Regions from separate parts of the Homo sapiens genome. Here all the other regions are linked to region 3. Evidence: promoter capture Hi-C in 16 types of primary human blood cells and fetal thymus (Javierre and others, 2016). All regions are on one chromosome and are shown on one strand. The core of a region is centred on a gene start or on the middle of the fragment in contact, and the rest is flanking DNA. Distances in the headings are between cores, read along the strand shown.

Evidence for each region. Contacts are between HindIII fragments. The CHiCAGO score rates a contact against its expected background, and 5 or more counts as called.
Region 1: a fragment that was not itself captured here is called in contact with the fragment with the promoter of IKZF2 in region 3 in 1 of 17 cell types (fetal thymus); the score reaches 5.9 in fetal thymus.
Region 2: a fragment that was not itself captured here is called in contact with the fragment with the promoter of IKZF2 in region 3 in 1 of 17 cell types (naive B cells); the score reaches 5.8 in naive B cells.

What each region holds. Positions count from the first base shown.
Region 1 is chr2:214,680,497-214,683,726 of GRCh38, reverse strand. No RefSeq gene overlaps it. Among named protein-coding and RNA genes, the nearest start is that of BARD1, 130 kb to the left of the region's middle. The HindIII fragment of the contact is 945 bases long and covers 1,337-2,281 here.
Region 2 is chr2:214,819,871-214,823,298 of GRCh38, reverse strand. The region is part of intron 1 of SNHG31 (small nucleolar RNA host gene 31); the gene reads right to left. Among named protein-coding and RNA genes, the nearest start is that of SNHG31, 11 kb to the right of the region's middle. The HindIII fragment of the contact is 486 bases long and covers 1,276-1,761 here.
Region 3 is chr2:213,149,443-213,152,861 of GRCh38, reverse strand. It overlaps IKZF2 (IKAROS family zinc finger 2), which reads left to right and starts at 1,250. Exons shown (of 9, transcript NM_001387220.1): 1 at 1,250-1,449; 2 at 2,615-2,718. RefSeq lists silencers at 660-1,019, 1,100-1,159. The HindIII fragment of the contact is 7,158 bases long and covers 1-3,419 here.

The sequences.
Region 1 (3,230 bases), core at 560-3,059, 1.5 Mb before region 3:
CTTGTGACTTAGTTTGCTCATCCTTTTTTAGTTTCTTAAGGTATGAGGTTAACTTACTGATTTGAGATCTTTCTTTTCTTCATATAGGAATTTACAGGTATCAATTTCCCCCTAAGTATTGATTTAGTTGCATCCTATAAGTTTTGGTACATTGTGTTTTTATTTTCATTAGTATCAAATTATTTTCTAATTTCCCTTGAAATTTCTTCTTTGATCCATTGTTTAGTTAGGAGGGTGCCTACCATTGATGTCAAATTATAGTATACAGGGGAAAATATTGAAAGGAAATTTTAATAATTTATAGTGTGAAGTAGGTCCTACTCTGAAAACAAATTACTTGCATTTAATAGAACATACCATTGCTCATTTTCATCTCACGCCTGTGTTTATTATCACATATTCCAAGATGGTGTGGGTAGATCTTCTCAAGGTTTTCATTATGTTTTCACCACCTACAATATCCTTTATTTTTTCTGATTCAATTTCAGTTTCTCTAATTGTTCAGCAATCAGTGCAACACGGTGGTTTTTCTCCTTCATCTTCAGGAGGCCGTGTGGTTAGCAAAGAAAGTCAAACATTTATTATATTTTCTATTTTCAGCATAACAAGAGTTCCAGCAGAAGAAGACTGACATTTAGTGGACCTGTAATGTATTTATGTGTTATTTTGAATTAATTATTTCAAAAGAATATAGTAAAGAAAATTGTTCCCATTTTCCAGTTGAGACTCAGGAAATGTCAGTAGTTTTGCAAAAAGTCAAAATGATAAATGATAGACATGGGATTTAAACCCAGTTTTGTGCTATGTTAGTGCTCATACTCTTTCCACTGCATCTGCTTCCTGAGGAGCAAAGAAGGCCCATCACTGCTAGATTTGGGGAGTTTTATAATTAGCACTAGAAACATAGTAGCTATGTCAGGCTCTACAATCTTTCTTTACTTTCTCAAAGTTTTTACTTTTTAATTATCTGTTAATTCTCAACTAAATGTTCTCCACCAGATGATCCACTTTAAAATGTGTTGGTTTCCAGAGTGTTTGATACTATAATTCTTCTTCTTTCTATTAGATCTGTTTATTGCATTATCCACATTCTAGCCATGATTTACATGCCACCATATCTTGGGGATACCTAAGATAGCATCTGTAATTTTGCTGTAAAATCCTATGCCTGTTATTTTTCATGTTGTGTCCCAGTAGATTTGAAGTTAATAGTATTATTCCTATCATTTTACTCTATCCTTCACCTATTCTTATTATTTTTGTCCTAGCTGTTGACCTTCCCTATCTTGTCATATTTTTATGGTGTTTTCTCCATTTCCGTGGTCAGCGTAAAGCTTATAAGTTTAGTGGTTAAGATGGATTCTGGTGTGCATAGAAGTAATTAAGGCATATTATTATTGTAGTTTAAAGGTTGTACATAATAAGACATTTTGTTTTTACTGTATGTTTTTACTGAGTGATCTATTTACCATCCCAAGGCAAGCATGAATAAAAGTAGGTTAAACGTGAAAAAAAAAAAAGATGGATTCTGAAGCCAGACTGTTAGATTCAAATTCTTTCTCTGACAACTGACCCGAAATGTAAGAACCTGGGGATGTTACTTTACCACTTAAACCTACCTTACAGGGTTATTGTGAACTTAAATAAGTAGACACATGTAAAATGCTTCGTCAGAGTTCGGCATACAGTGTTCAACAGCTTTAACGCTTATTTCTCTTATTAGTATTATCCATTAAGTCAGTCACTATGATTCACATATAATTTTCTTTCAGTAAGAGCATAAGCTGGAAGTTATTATTCTAATATTTTTTAAAGAATTTCTGCATGATTAGCCATTAGCATCCTACCATCCTCTCACTTTTTTACTATCACATTCATAGCTTTTCTTGAAGAAATTTTTATAAATTCTGGGTGTCTGGCAGCATGCCATAGTAGAAGAATTTAGAATATTTGGCTAGAAAAGAGATTCGTCAACTTAATAGGGTCTGATTTCTCCTTGTTTAATCAAGCACAGGACAATCAATATCCTTCCAAAGGTTTGGGTTGCCTTTAATGAATGGGATGCATCCTTATATGATTCCAGGAGGGCACACTTCCTACTCTCTTCCACTAACTAACCTCTCCACCATATTTCGCTTTTCCTGGAACTCTGCATCTTCTATAACAAAATGCACTTCTCAAGTCTTGTCCTTTTGCAGAGAGATCTTTCTCAGAAAAATAAAGCATAAACTCTGCAGGATATTGGATCACCTCTCTTTAGCCTTGAGGTGAAATATAAGCTTTTTTGTTTCCCTTTGGTACAAGTTTTACAGGATATATGGGTAGAGGATCAGAAGAGAAATGCTTTTTGAGATGAGTACTCAGCTTTTCTGGTTCACCAATTTCCTTCTGTTCTCTATGCCTTCTCCTACCCAACCTTCTAATTGAAGGTAATTTCAAGTAGCATCAGCTTTCTTCAGCGACTGCACTGGAATGAAAATCATATGAGACATTTGTAAAATTATAGTTATCAGGGTCTGACCTTGAGTTCTTAAATCAGAATCTCTGAGTTTGAAGTTACACAAATCTGTATTTTAAAAAATTCCATCCAGTATATACACATTTTCTCTGTTTTTTTTTCCTTTATATACCTGATAGTAAATATATATGTGTACATGTATTTAAATAAATATATATATGTTTAATGTTAATGGGCATCTTACTATATTGCCCAGGCTATATTATCCAGGCTGGTCTCAAACTCCTGGCCTCAAAAACCTCAGCCTCCAAAGTAGCTGGGATTACAGATTCAATCCACTGCACAAGGCATGATAGTAAAATTTGAACTACTGGGTTTAATTTTTTTATTTTTTATTTTTATTTATGTATTTATTTATTTTATTTTATTTTTTTTTTGAGATAGAGTCTTGCTCTGTCACCCAGGCTGGAGTGCAGTGGCGCAATCTCAGCTCACTGCAAGCTCCGCCTCCCGGGTTCACACCATTCTCCTGCCTCAGCCTCCCGAGTAGCTGGGACTACAGGTGCCTGCCACCACGCCCGACTAATTTTTTTTTTTTTTTTTTTTTGAGACGGAGTCTCGCTCTGTCGCCCAGGCCGGACTGCGGACTGCAGTGGCGCAATCTCGGCTCACTGCAAGCTCCGCTTCCCGGGTTCACGCCATTCTCCTGCCTCAGCCTCCCGAGTAGCTGGGACTACAGGCGCCCGCCACCGCGCCCGGCTAATTTTTTTTG
Region 2 (3,428 bases), core at 269-2,768, 1.7 Mb before region 3:
CAGTCTTACTGAGATAAAACAAAAGATTCGATTTCAAACCTGGCTCTCACAAATCTGAGCTTTCAGCAGGCACCATCTTTGCTGGCAATATTACTTTCCCAATTATTTCCAGGTTCTGGATTGCTGGGTCCTGCCTCCCTCCTTTCTTTTCTTTTCTTTCCTCCTTCCCTCCCTCCTTTCTTTCATCACATCATGATGAGCTATATATAATGTATACAGCTACTTCACTTGTACAAAAGAGGCCTGGTGAGGCAAGAAACATCTTCACCTTTATACTCAGTTACATGGCTAACATGGCATTTTCCAGGGGCCAGCCCTCATAAATCCAGACTTCAGATTTGTTTCCATAGCAATCCTATATTCTGCTAAAAAACATTCCATAATTAAGGACTCTTGTTCTTAAAGTTCTCAGCCACCCCAATCCTGGGATTTTCCCTGGCTGCTTTTAATCGATTCAAGTCCAGTCTATGATTATGACATATTGATTCCTCTCTCTGCCCCACCATCCTCTTTCCTCTCTTCCTCCTTCCCATGGCTTAAACTTAATTTCTCTCTTTGCCTCATGGAAAGTTACTTTGGGTTCTGCTAATTCCCCTCTTAGCCAAGCATCTTTTTTTTTTTTTTTTTTTTTTGAGATGGAGTTTTGCTCTTGTTGGCCAAGTGGAGTGCAGTGGCGTGATCTTGGTTCACTGTCACCTCCGCCTTCCGGTTCAGGTGATTCTCCTGCCTGAGCCTCCCGAGTAGCTGGAATTGCAGGTGCCCACCACCATGCTCAGCTAATTTTTGTATTTTTAGTAGAGACGGGGTTTCACCATGTTGGCCAGGCTGGTCTCGAACTCCTGACCTTGTGATCTGCCCACCTCGGCCTCCCAAAGTGCTGGGATTACAGGTGTGAGCCATCACACCCAGTCTTAGCCAAGCATCTAATCAAGAATTTTCCCAAACCATCTCACAAAAGAAATCTGGTCTGACATGTTAAGAAAATGAATTTTTTTAAACTTTTGATTTTATACACTCCTAGGTTTTATTTTTCTTCAGACAATGGGAAGAGAAGAAGTAGATTGAATCTATTGGAGTGCAGAAAACAATACCCTAAAATATGCCCCATTGGCAAGCTAAGTGCTTTGAATTAAAGAAAACTGAAAGGCCTCAGAAATAAGCCTCAGAACTAAAGTCTCTCTCTGACCTTCCCCAACCACCCTCTCTCTCTGACCTTTTTCCTTGCTCAAAGCACCAAGAGAGATTCTAAGATTTCCTTATCTGACTAAGGAAGCTTCTTTCCAACAGAAATGCAATTGTCTTAAGACCCACTTCCTAGAAATCTCATCAAATGACCAGGAAAGTTCAACCATTGAAGAAGAGAACTGACTGGGAGTCAGCACCATGCCTAGGCTTTTCATCTCTTCTCTGACGGCAGCTCCAAGAGATTACTTACCTACAAGACTATTTGCATATTTTCCCAGTGAAGTTCAGCCACTCATCATCCTGCCACCTCCCCCAGAACTCTGAGAAACTTCATCCCAGGCCATTGTTCTTGGGGTTCATTAATTTCCCCTGAAAATCATTTACTACTCCTCATGATTGACTATATCTCATATTTCCTTGTCTATTATGAAGAGGGTAGTATCAACCATCTGGCTCTTCTTTGAATCTCGTATTTTAAATGTTTCCTATGTTTATGCATGTTCAATAAATTTGTATGCCTTTTTATCCTATTAATCTGTCTATTGCAGTGAAACTTCAGCAGGTGGAGAGGAAGCTTTCTCTCCACCTATACAAACCTAAGCAATACTCACCAAAAGCCAGAAAAATTTAGTCATTTTAGAGAACTTAAAGGGCACAAACCATCCCAAAAAGGGTTGGTTATCTGGAAATCTCTGGGGGCAGTGGGGAAGCCTTCTCCTAAGAGAAAAGAGCAATTTTGGTCTGGAAATAATACCTTAGCATCTAAGGGCCAAGCTGATTTTGATTACGGCATGTGTCTTCACTCTGTCCTCATTCATTCATTCCTACACCTATTACATCCCTGGTGCTGTCCTAGGTACAGGGGATATAGCAATGTACAGACAACAATTGATGCTTTCTTGAAGCTGGTGTTGCATAAATAAATATAAATAATAAATTACACAAGTTAAATATATAATGTGCGAGTTGGTGAGACACATAAAGAAGGAAAAGTGGGGTAGAAAGTGTTCCTCCAAACCAGCCCCTCATGGATTTGTGATATGAATGGAAAAAGCACAAAACCATAAGAGCCAATTTTGCATGCTTCTGAGAAATAATGAAGGCATTGGCAGCACTAAATTATTTGAGTAGACACAAAAATGGGGAAAAGCCACAATCCCTATTTTAGTAGAGCTGTGTGGAAATGGAGTACCTTGTAAAGGCAGCACCTAGGGAGAGTTTTGGACTGGAGGGGTTGAGGGGCTTGAAGGAGCGAGGAGCTCATGACCTCAGAGCATGCCAAGCTTCAAGCTTCTTTTATTTATTTATTTATTGAGAAGGAGTTTCACGTTTTGCACAGGCTGGAGTGCAATGACATGATCTCGGCTCACTGCAGTCTCCACCTCCCAGGTTCAAATGATTCTCCTGCCCCAGCCTCCCGAGTAGCTGGGATTATAGGTACGCGCCACCATGCTCGGCTAATTTTGTATTTTTAGTAGAGATGGGGTTTCACCATGTTGGCCAGGCTAGTCTCGAGCTCCTGATCTCAGGTGATCCGCCTGCCTCAGCCTCCGAAAGTGCTGCGATTACAGGCGTGAGCCACTGTGCCCAGCCAGCATGCCAAGCTTCTGAGTCTAGGCAGTAAACATCACTATGGAGCTCAGTGACAGATCCTGAGAGGAGGCAAAGTCTGGATCCCATGTTGTGCCAACAGCACTGTGTTTGCGACTAAATGTCAAACACAGCCTGAGATTTCCACACGGTGGTAGGCAGGGTAGACACAACTGGACATAATAGGTAGATGCACTGACATGCTGGTAAATGTTGAACAATGAGCATTCTGAGTGTAGTTGCAACATATATGTTGGTTGATATTTGTATTAGAGTCAGACAGAAGTGAAACTTGTTCATCAATGATGTGACTTGCTTGCAAGTTGAATACTGAAAGAATATGTCACCAATTTTAGGCTGTGTGCAGTGGCTCATGCCTGTAATCCCAGCGCTTTGTGAGTCCAAGGTGAGCGGATCACTTGAGGTCAGGAGTTGGAGACCAGCCTGGCCAACGTGGTGAAACCCCGTCTCTACCAAAATACAAAAATTAGCTGGGTGTGGTGGCAGGTGCCTGCAATCCCAGTTACTTGGGAGGTGGTGGCAGGAGAATCATTTAAACCCAGGAGGCGGAGATTGCAGTGAGCCGAGATGGCACCACTGCACTCCAGCTTGGGCACAGAGTGAGACTCCCTCTCAAAAATACCTATATCTAT
Region 3 (3,419 bases), core at 1-2,500:
ATCTGTGATATGGTTTCTCAGGAACACCGTTTGGCAGTCCTGATAATTTCATGTGTTTTCAAATTTCAGCCATCCAGACTACACAGTTCACTATTTTCAGCTCCTTTCATTTTCCTTTTCCCTTTAATTATAGAAGTCTCTATTCCCTCTTTTCGCAAATGTGGTCAGGAAAGATACTAAATGCTACTATTTGTAGAAAGAATATGCATTTGTTTTTCTCTTGACGGTTCACTTAAGTTCTTTCCAAATAAACAAGCTGTGGTTGATAGTGATAGGTAACACTTCAAGGGTAGCAACTTTTTGTACTCATCCGTTCCTTTGACTTTGGAAGACGTGGCACATGCCCCGGGGGAGAAAAAGCAAGTCAACACTTTAGTTTTTAAACTTGCACTGTTAAAGCACTTTCAAAATAGTAATAGTTGAGCTTCATCTCAGACATGAATGTCTTTCTCAGTCTATTCCCCAGGACCCCTCTTATCCCGCTTCAGGTCCCGGTCAATGCGGTGCGCTTTCCGAAATGGGGCCGCAGAGTTGCCGGCGGAGACCAGTAGGTGGGAGGCTCCACGCACACTCCCCGACTCGGCCGGGACGCGGCTCCCGGACTCCGCGCAGGGCGCCAAGATCGCCGCCCCGCTCCCTTCCCCCGGCCTCCCCACCAATCCCAGTTTGAAAGAAAACTTCACGCGGCCGAAATGAACGTCACCTCACCGCTCCAAGCCTCCAGCCGGCAGAAAACGTGAGATTTATTATGACACGGGGAGGGGAGATGGGGGTCGCCGTGGCACACTCGGAAGCGGGTTACCTGGCCCCCGTCGGGGGCGGGGTCCGCAGTCCGGGGACCAACGGGCTGGGGGCGACGCGGCCGGGCGCGCGGGTGGGCGCGAGGGAGTGCGCGCGTCGCGGAGCCTCCGGGGCAGCACTTGTCCTGTAATCGATTGCCGAGCGCGCCGAGCGGCTTAGCGCGCAGACACGCGCACACGCGCCCGCCAGCCCGCGCGCGCGCGCACACGCGCTCTCATACACACACGCACAGGCGCTCGGGCCCCGCACACACGCACGCGCGCGCACGCACGTCCGCTCGCCCGCGCCCGGGGCTCCGCTGCCCGCCGCCAGCCGCCCGCCGCCGCCGCCGCCGCAGCCGCCGCCAGCCCGCCCTCCGCCCGCGGGCGTCTGCGCGAGCCCGGCCGGCGGGGGAGATGTGCTCGGGCTCCACCGGATCGGTTTCTCGGGGTTTGACCAGCTGTCCCGGGCTAACCCTGCTCCTCGCTGAAGATGGAGGAAGTAAAAACAGGATTACCCTTAGCTACAGATCCACTGCCTTAGTTTCCACCACCAACTGCAGTGCACAAACACACGTTAGGCACAGGAAAGAAAGAAAGACAGAGGACACATTAACAGTAAACACAAACAAAAGGGTGATGGGATTATTTTACTGCATGCACTGCTGAGGTAAATCTCCGCTTGGCTTTTGCGTGGTGAAGAACAGCTCTTGTTTTGTCTTCTGATTCATAGATTATATATAAATATGTGTATGATTTGCAAAGGGGGGAGTGTTTTCAAAGTTAAGTGTAATTATATAGCATCTCGTTTTGCACTGTGATGTGATCAAATGACTTGTTGCTGTTAACCAGTAATAATAATAATAATATAGGTATTTTTCTCTGGGAGGGATGGATTGTGGTTCTGATTAGGGTAATGATTTTTGTAAAGGACGCTCAGGGAATCGGGTTGAAGATGATGTCCTCTGCCTTAATTTATCGTCCCCTCCTTGTAATCTGTTTCTGGGATGTTAATCGATTAATCAGTTCTCATCTCTATAGCTGTCATGAATTTGGACTTGTTTTGCTTTGTTTTAACTTGAATTCCAAGAAGAAAGATTGGGTAGGCTGGAATAAATTGAAGCTGTCCAGATAGAAGGTAATATCCAGATCCTGTTGGAATTAAAAAAAAAAAAAAACCAAAAACCCTGGTATGACACATGTAAACAGGCAGCAGTTAAATCACTTTGACAGGTTCTAGTATGGGCGAAAGAGATGGAATTAAGATTTATTTATTTTTTTTCTTTTTTGCCAAGGGCCAAAAACAGTCCTGTGAAGTTGGCCTGGGTTCCTAGCTGGGTTCTGCCTGACTGTCCCTCCCCTCTACCCGCCCCCCCCCCCTTTTCTTTCAGTTTTCTTGTCTTAGCTTTTGGTCGATTCTTAAGGAACCGGTGGATCAAGTTTTTTCTCTTGTTAATCGCATTGCTATAGCACTGACTGACCTCTCTCTCTCTCTTTTTTTTCCTCTTTCCTGAAAGTACGTGGTGCCATTCCTGAGTGACTTTTCCTACTAGACCATCCCTAAGGGACGAGGGGGAGGGGTGGAAGGAGGAGGAGGAGGAGGACGAGGAGGAGGAGGAGGAGGAGGGGGGTGTTCTTCTCTCTCATTTCTTGGTTTTGTTTATCAGCCGATCTGTTTGCTGGATTTGGGCTTGGAATGACCCACCTGTAAAGTGCTTTTCCTTCCTCCTCCCCTTGAACTCTGCAGGGGGCTTGGCTTGGAGGGGGCAAGGGAGGGAAAGAGAGAAGGGGGAAACACAAAAAACTTCTTTCTTTCTCCCTCCGTTTATCTTCAGCCCGACATTGTCACCTCCTCTTTGAGGGGTTAGAAGAAGCTGAGATCTCCCGACAGAGCTGGAAATGGTGATGAATCTTTTTTAATCAAAGGACAATTTCTTTTGTATGTACATTTCGTTTCTCTTTCTCCTTTTTCTTTTTCCTTCTTTCCTTCTCTGAGGGTTAATAACCATTTCATTGATGGGGCAGCCTTCTTTCGCTTCTCCCTGACGTTTCTTTCTTTTTAATATGTGTGTGTTAAATGTGTACATTTTTAAAGAGATAAGCTCATTTGTAAAATATCCGAAGAAACTGCTCCTCTTTTAAACTTTACGGATCTCTTTCTTTAAAGCCTTATGTAATCATAATTTAAAAGAATGTGATAACAGTACAGCAGGTTGAAATTTAAGTGCTATGTAGTGACTGAGTTGGGAATTTGATCTGATTATTCCATAAAGAAAGAAATAAAAGTTTTTTTTTGGGGGGGGGGTAAGGGAGTGTGGTGGTGAAGAAGGGGAGGGGAGGGAGAAGGGAAGTGGTTTTGGAGACAAGAAGTGAAGCTGCCTGTTTTCCAGTAAGTAATGGAGAAATTCCAGGAGCCAGGGCTAAATATACTTGGCGATCAATACAGAAATGGCTCATTGTGAATAATTTAGCTGCTGGTGCAGTGAGAGTTTTGAAACTAAAGGCAAAAAGGACCAAGGCCAAAGGGGGAAAAAAAAGTAAAAATCTTCTCAGGACTTGTCAATTCTTAAACTTTTTTCCCCACAGAATACAGTTAGATTATCGATCTTTTCATTATGTGAATCAAAGCTAGGGGGTGTC